Linked DNA regions of Homo sapiens: region 2 is linked to region 1. The links are contacts of gene promoters, found by promoter capture Hi-C in human tissues and cell types (Jung and others, 2019). All regions are on one chromosome and are shown on one strand. The core of a region is centred on a gene start or on the middle of the fragment in contact, and the rest is flanking DNA. Distances in the headings are between cores, read along the strand shown. Region 1 holds the start of DCLK2 (doublecortin like kinase 2). Region 2 overlaps DCLK2 (doublecortin like kinase 2).

Evidence for each region. The method cuts DNA at HindIII sites, captures the fragments that hold promoters and counts their contacts. A contact is called where the count stands out against the background at its distance.
Region 2: a fragment that was not itself captured here is called in contact with the fragment with the promoter of DCLK2 in region 1 in 2 of the 25 tissues and cell types used here (H1 embryonic stem cells and heart right ventricle).

What each region holds. Positions count from the first base shown.
Region 1 is chr4:150,076,225-150,080,072 of GRCh38, reverse strand. DCLK2 (doublecortin like kinase 2) reads right to left here and starts at 1,628. Exons shown (of 16, transcript NM_001040260.4): 1 at 625-1,628. The coding sequence starts at 1,045. The HindIII fragment of the contact is 8,036 bases long and covers 1-3,151 here.
Region 2 is chr4:150,146,947-150,150,794 of GRCh38, reverse strand. All of the region lies in intron 2 of DCLK2 (doublecortin like kinase 2), which reads right to left. Among named protein-coding and RNA genes, the nearest start is that of DCLK2, 70 kb to the right of the region's middle. The HindIII fragment of the contact is 3,352 bases long and covers 179-3,530 here.

The DNA.
Region 1 (3,848 bases), core at 379-2,878:
AACCAATTTAATCAGGATATCTGGGGGTTGGGGGATCAGGGTCCCATATTTTTCGAAGTCCCCAGTGTGATCCAAGATGAAGCCAAGGTTGAGACCTGCTGTCTAGGATCATCCCTCTTCACCTCAAGTAACTTCTGCTGCAAGGCAAACTAGGAAAGCCAACCTAGAGCATTTCACAACCACAGCTTCTGACAGCAGTCACAACAGGACCCCGAATACTGGAACATGACAGGAGCCTGCACCAGGGTCCACACCGAGGGTCCAACAGAGCTTATTAGTAGGGGATTACCCAGCTCCCCATGGGAGAACCATTTTCTCAAACAGTTTGCACTTCAATACAAATAAGTTCAACAATCTTAGGAGATGCCACCAGTGCCTAAATTGGCCTGACCATCAGGAAATTTTTTCCTTCTTTAAGAGACAAACCTCTTGGGAAGGAAAGTCAGTGTGTATGTGGGCACCCCACCGGCCCCCACCCCCAGCCAATCTCTAGAGAAGCAGACAGAAGCATCAATTCCCGTGCGGCTTGGAAAGCACCCCGCGGGCTCCCCGCTGCGCCGGCTCACGCCCACTGCACCTGCCGGCGCTCCGCCGCACCTGCCGTGCGGCGCCCTCCCCTCCTACCTTCCAGCAGCTCGTCCAGGCTGGTGACCTTCCGGCTGCCGTCGATGGTGTAGATAGTGCGGACACCCTGGGGCAGGTTCACGTTGTCCGACAGGGAGCGGGTGAGCTCTATGAGGAGCGCATCGAAGGACCGGAAGCGGTCGCTGGAGATGGCAAACACCAGGCCCTTGAAGTAGCGGTCCCCGTTCCGGTAGAAGCGCGCCTTCTTGGCCTTCTTCTCCGAGCTGAGGGCCTGCAGGGTCCGCGTGCGGTAGAAGCTGCAGTGGGCACTGTGCGCCGGACTGGGGATGAGCCCGTTCCCCTTGGGGCCCGAGCTGCTGCTGCCCCCGGAGGAGCTGGGGGCCCCTCTCCGCGACCCCGGCCGCGGCCTTTTGTCCCGTTCCTCAAAGTGCTCCAGCTCGATACTCCTGGTGCTGGCCATCGCGGCTGCTCCGAGGGCGTCCGCAAAAAGACGTTCCGGGCCGACTAAGGGTGCGAGCGCCGGTGCAGGGACGTCTGACTGCGAGGGCCCTTAACGCGCCGGGACACCTGGCTCTGGCATCCCGCCCTCTCCGCGCAGGTGGGGCCGAGGAGCCGCGGAGGAGCCGACCCGCCCGCGCCCTCAGCTAAAAGTGTCCGCAGCGCCGAGCTGCCCAGGTCATTGTCCAGTGCGACTTGCTCCGTGCCTCCCGCCTGCCGGGGAGCCCCACGCCCCCGCAAGCGCCTCCTCCACCCGGCCACGCCTCACAAGTCCCGCTCGGGAGCCGACCGGGAGAGGCAAAGTTGGGCCGCCCGAGGCTCGCGCTGGGCCCGCGGGCGCCCACAAAGCTCGGGCGTCTGCCGAGCGCTCCCGGGAGCGCCGAGGGGAGGAAGGAAGGAAGGGTGGGGCGGGGCGCGGAGCGTGGGAGAGGCCCCCGGGGGAGTCGCGCGGGCCCAGGCCCGGGGTGCAGCGCCGCCGCCTCGGCCGCGCCCGGATCCCGCCCGCCGGGCAGCGCGCGCCGTTCGGGGCTGAGAGGGCCGTGTCTGGCCCCTTCCTTCCCTGGAGCGCGGCCCTAGCGGGAAATAATGCAGCCCGCCTCCCACGCAGCGGTCAGGCCCGGCCCACTGGCAAGCATCCGCGCTCTGGCCTCCCTCCGCCGCCGACAGGCTGTCAGCGCTGGAGGAGGCTTCCCGGCCCCGGGGATGCCAAACCGCGGAGAAGGGGAGGAGGGGGCGGAGGAGGGGGCGGAGGAGGGGGCCGAGCGCCGGCGCGGGAGGAGCAGCTCCTGCGGGTCCCGGGCAGCCCCGCCCGCCTGACGGCTCCTGCCCGGCGCCGCGCGTTAATGGGCGCAGCCGCGACGCGCGCTCCTCCGCCTGGGAAACGTAACCGCGCAGGCCAAAAACTACAAAGGAAGGAGATTCAAGGGCAGGGAGCACATCCCCAGCCAGCATCCCAGTGAGGACCCCAGGCCAAACTACCGCAGAAATCCGAAGCCCAGCATTGACTTGGGGCACACCATTCATTTTTTTTAAAAAAGATTTGTTGCTTTATTAGAAAATCCTTTGAGAAAACAGCCTCCACTGTTTCCATTGCAGATTCGCTAATATGGTACGTTCAGTAACTTTGAATGAATGATGAGAAGTTATTGGGTGGTAGAGGGGGTTATGTAATCAACGAATATTTATCGAGAGCGTACCATGTGTCAGGCATTGTTTCTGTCACTGGGATGCCCTAACAAAGGAAAGAGAGACTCTGCACCCACTCCCCCCGCCCCGCATATTTAATGTTGTCAATTAAAGCTTCTTACCTAAGAGGCCTATCATTTGTGAGCACCCATCATAGTGGAAATCTTAATGCCGTAGTGTCTATTCAACAATAAAAACATCTTTTCCAAGACTTAAGAGAAATACTAGTTACTTGCATTTTGTTATTAGGAAAAATAAAGCTCAAATATGTTTGATCCCAATTTGGCACGTGAAACCTTAGAACATTCAACACCTGGTTTTCTGAGCAGCCCTAGACAGCAATCCAAACTGACCTTTCAGGAAGAAAGGCATAGTTGCTTTTTTTCGGGTTGAACTGAGTCCTGGAAGAGCATGAATAAAAGAAGGTAGAAGCACATGCAACGGTCTAGCATCTGTGAAGTTGGTGCGCCCCACCAAACACACGCACACACACGCATACACACCCTTCATGGCAGCTCCAGAAAGGTCTCCTGCTCGGTGCACAATACTACTCCTAAGGCAGTTCTGGGCATACACCTGGGCATACCTAACTTCCTGCGGGGTTGGGGCATGCTAGGAAGTCAGAGCTGATCTGAGGCTTCAATGTAGTTTTTCTAGAGGAAAATCCTGCAGCATCATTAGGTCCACCACCTTAAAAGGCCTCAACCTAGATCAGTTAAATCAGAATTTCTGGAGACGGGCTTCTCCAACAGTATTTTTTTAAAAGTACCCCTAAGGTATATCCAGAGTTTCCAACCACAGGCTGTAACACCAGGAATCAAATAAATCAGTGCTTCTTCTCAAACTTTAATATATTTACATGTCATAGGGGAATCTCGTTAAAATGCAGATTGCTATTCTGTAGCTCTGGGGTGGAGTTTGAGATTCTGCATTTCTGATGAGCCCCTGGGTAATGCCAATGCTGCTGGTCTTGGTACAAGACTTTGAGAAACAAGAAACTAAATTGCAAATTTATTGAGATAAGTTTCCATCTAAGTACCAGTAACTCCACAGAGCCCATCAACTTGCCTTAAGATGGCCATGTTCATTTGTATCACTGTTAGTATTTCTTAGGGGGAAAAAGACTTTGTAAACTATTGCTGTAGAAACAAATTATCCTAAACTTAATGATTTACAACAATAAACATGCATAATCTCAGCATTTTTGGCAGATCGGAAATCTGGGAGCAGTTTACCTCAAAGCCTCATGTGATTGCTGTCAAGATGTTGACAGGGGTCACAGCCATCTAAAGGCTTGACTGGGTCAAGAAGATCCATTTCCAAGACAGCCCATTCACATGAATGGTAAGGAGGCCTCAGTTCCTTGTCATGAGTACCTTTCCATAGAGTTGCTTAAGTGTCACCATGACTTGTCGGTTGGCTTCCTCTAGAGCAGGGGTGTCCAATCTTTTGGCTTCCCTGGGGCACATTGGAAGAAGAATTGTCTTGGGCCACACAGGAAATACACTAACATTAATGATGGCTGATGAGCTAAAAAAAAAAAAAAAATCACAAAATCTCATAATATTTTAAGAAAGTTT
Region 2 (3,848 bases), core at 605-3,104, 70 kb before region 1:
CAACAAAAGCCAAGGTGCAAGTAACTGGCTATTAGTCCCTGAGCTATAATTTCACTCTATTTTGGGGCATTAGGCAGGACATGGGAGAAAACAGGTTTGAACAACATGTCCAAGAGTGCTATTACTCTGCAAGAGGGCATTAAGCCCAACATAAATAGAAGTGTCAGGCTCAAGGGTAATAGCCTGGAGCATTCATTCATCTCTGAATTTTTAAAAAAATAAATGCTACATTTATCAAATACTCTGTGACACAGTGCTAAATGCTTTTAATAGGTTTTATTTTTATTTTTCTCCTTATTTTATAAAAATTATTTTTTAGTAATAAAATGATTATCTCTTTTCTTAATTGCCTTTAATATATCTCACTGAATCCTGACAATAGCCCTGAGGTAGGTATTACTGTCCCCATTTTGTGGATGAAAGAGACCTATCACCATCACTTCACAGGAGAAACTGAGGTTCAGAATAATTAAATGCTGCACCAGACATCAATCAGGCCAGGGTCTGAAACTTCAGCTTCTGCCTTCAATTCCAATGCTCTGTCAAGGTACAGCACATACTCTCTTCATTAACGGAGTGACAGTAGTATACGATACTTTATCTTGACCTTTCTGAAATGGCAAGAATATGCATGACTCACAGTATATAAATTGTTTTTTATTTTTTTAAATTTATTTCATACACATTTAGTTAAACTTCCCATTAAATGCTGGAAACTAGGAGGGGGGGAAAATAACCTCCATTTTTAAGAAGTCAGTATATTCTATACACACTCCCATACACTTCAATTATGTTCTTTGTCAAAATGCTCTTTGAACAAAAAAGCAAAAAGACATTCATTTAAAAACATGAACAAATTTAAAATGTAAAGTTTTATTTGCTCTAAAATTTGGGTTCCTTTGGTTTTACAAAGACTGTTATGTAATTCAGTAGCACTTTGAAAATTACTAGACCACCTCATTTCCATCCCCAATCAACCTTACAGAATCTCTTTCAATGAAGTCCAGAATCAGTGCAGATTTTATGTATTAAACACAATTCCAAAACAGAGCAAGAGACATTCATTGGCAAAGAAAAATGTGTTCTTGCTTCCTTGCCTCATGAGAATAGAAGCTTTTATGTGTGAAATAACACGTCTGCCAAATGACCTTAAGTTAGTCTTCACAAAATGTTAAGCAAAAAAGCTCCACAAACCAAAAACCAAAATACCTCCCTTCATGCCAGGCATCTTTACAGCCAATTGCCAAAACAAATGATGCAATAAAACCTTGCTGATTCTCTCTCCACAATGCTCTCTATTCCCTCTGTGAAACATCCTGGCTGAAGGACACTGGATGCCCAGGACTCATAGACTACTTTCTGATACCCAAACACACCCACTTCCACCAGCTGAGTTTAATATATACCAAGAGTCAGTTCTGTTTCCTCCCAAACCTGTTTACACCAGTTGTGCCTGACAACATTATTTAATTATATAAATTGAGAAAATATGAATATAAAAATGAAGTTTTTCAATAGAAATTAACTAAAATTATTTGGAAAAGCTCCATAATTACTAAAATAAACTGCTACTGAATTAAATGTTGTCAAGATATCTTACATTTGAGGGGTGGGGGGTCTGATAAAATTTAAATGGATTCTGTCCTCAGATTGGTTCACAGGTATCTTATGGTCTCCATTTCTTTCTTTCTTTCTTTCTTTTCTTTTCTTTCAGGTATCCATGGTCTCCATTTCTTTCTTTTTTTTTTTTTTTTTTTGAGACAGTCTGTCACTCTTTCGCCCAGGCTGGAGTGCAGTGGTGCAATCTCAGCTCACTGCAACCTCTGCCTCCATGGTTAAAGTTATCCTCCCATCTCATCTCAGCCTCCCCAGTAGCTAGGCCTACAAGCATGCACCACCACGCCTGGCTAATTTTTGTATTTTTAGTAGAAACGGGGTTTCACCATGTTACCCAGGCTGGTCATGAGCCCCTGACCTCAAGTGATCTGCCCGCCTTGCCCTCCGAAACTGCTGGGATTACTGGCGTGAGCCACCACGCCTGGCCTCCACTTATTTCAAAGAACTCAAACTAGGAATTATGAACTCTATATTTAGATGTAGGTCATACAAGATAGGTAAGGTAAAACCTTCTTCACTGATCACACTGAAAAAGCTTTAGATATACATCAAATTTGTGGTGAATCAAAGTGTACTTACTGTTGTAAGTTAACATTCACTATAAATAAGTGTAAGCCAGGCACAGTGATATGCATCTGTACTCCTAGCTACTCAGGAGGCTGTGAGGCAGGAGGATTGCTTCAGTCCAGGGGTTTGAGTCTGCAATGTGCTATGATCACACCTATTAACAGCCACTCTACTACAGCCTGGGCAACACAGCAAGACCTCCATTTTTAAAAACATAAAAAAAAAAAAAGACATGAATTTTCTTTTGAGACAGGGTCTTGCTGTGTTGCCCAGGCTGGAGTGCAATGACACCATCTCAGCTCACTACAGCCTCAACCTCCTGGGTTCAAGCAATCCTCCTGCCTCAGCCCCTCCAAGTAGCTGGGACTACAGGTGCATGCCACAACGTCCAGCTAATTTTTGTATTTTTAGTGGAGACATGGTTTTGCCACATTGCCCAGGCTGGTCTCGAACTACGGAGCTCAATCTACCCACCTTGGCCTCCCAAAGTCCTAGGATTACAGGCGTGAACCACTGTGACCAGCCACAAAAAAGTACATGTAATTTTAATGATCCCTTCAGGAAGACTTTTCATTTACCAATAAACTATCACTAAAATAAGAGGATTTCTCCTGCAATTCTTTCTGAGGCAACTTTTTAACGCTATCATAGTTCACCTTCTAGGGCAACCCTAATTTCAACATCTACCCTATTCATTATTTGACAAATATTTTCTCAATACTTTGCCAATAAATATTGCCCAGATTGATATTTCAATTAATCTGTTTATTACAATTCTCCACCAAAAGTAAAAATAGGACTAAAATGCATTGGCAATGTTCTCCCCAAACTGGAGATGCCATGGAGTATACAGTGGATTGTACATCTGACCCTGCATACTTCCAGCATCAGTTCCACAGGCAGGGCAACTTTCTATGAAGTCCAGGTGTTTCTTTTATAGCCCAGTTTTTACAATACAAATTGTACATAATGGGACTGAATATTGAAGGGAATACAATTTACATTATAAGGAATGACAGTGGTCACGATTAGGTCAGGGTCAAAAACCAGCAAGCACCAGGTACATGGGACAAAATATCTGTACAACTTATTTTTGATGCTTGCACTTTCTTACCATTTTATTTCAACCTGTTTATATCAAAATAATGATATAGAAATAAATGATTTTGGTCTGGTCTTTCACATAGCCAGCTTTATGAAGGTAACTAAACTCCAGGCCCCCATACAAAAGGGGTCTGAAAATATCAGTTCCCACTTGCTGCCTTACAGTGTACAACATACTTTTACATTTATTCTTGTTTTCTTATTTTTTAGAGACAGGGTCTTGCTCTGTTGCCCAGGATGGAGGGCAGTGGCATGATCATAGCTCACTGTAACCTTGAACTCCTGGGCTCAAGTGATCCTCCTGCCTCAGCCTCCCAAGTAGGTGGGACTATAGGCATGGCACCATGCTTCGCTAACTTATCTTTTTTATTTTTTATTTTTTTTTTGGTAGAAACAGGCCTCACTATGTTGCCCAGACTGGTCTGGAACTCCTGGGCTTAAGCAATCCTCCTGCCTCTGCCTCCCAAAGTGCTGCGATAATAGGCATGAGCCACCACACTTGGCCACATACAGTATTTCAATTGACCCTCAGAAAACTCTATCAGGTAGCCATGGTATAC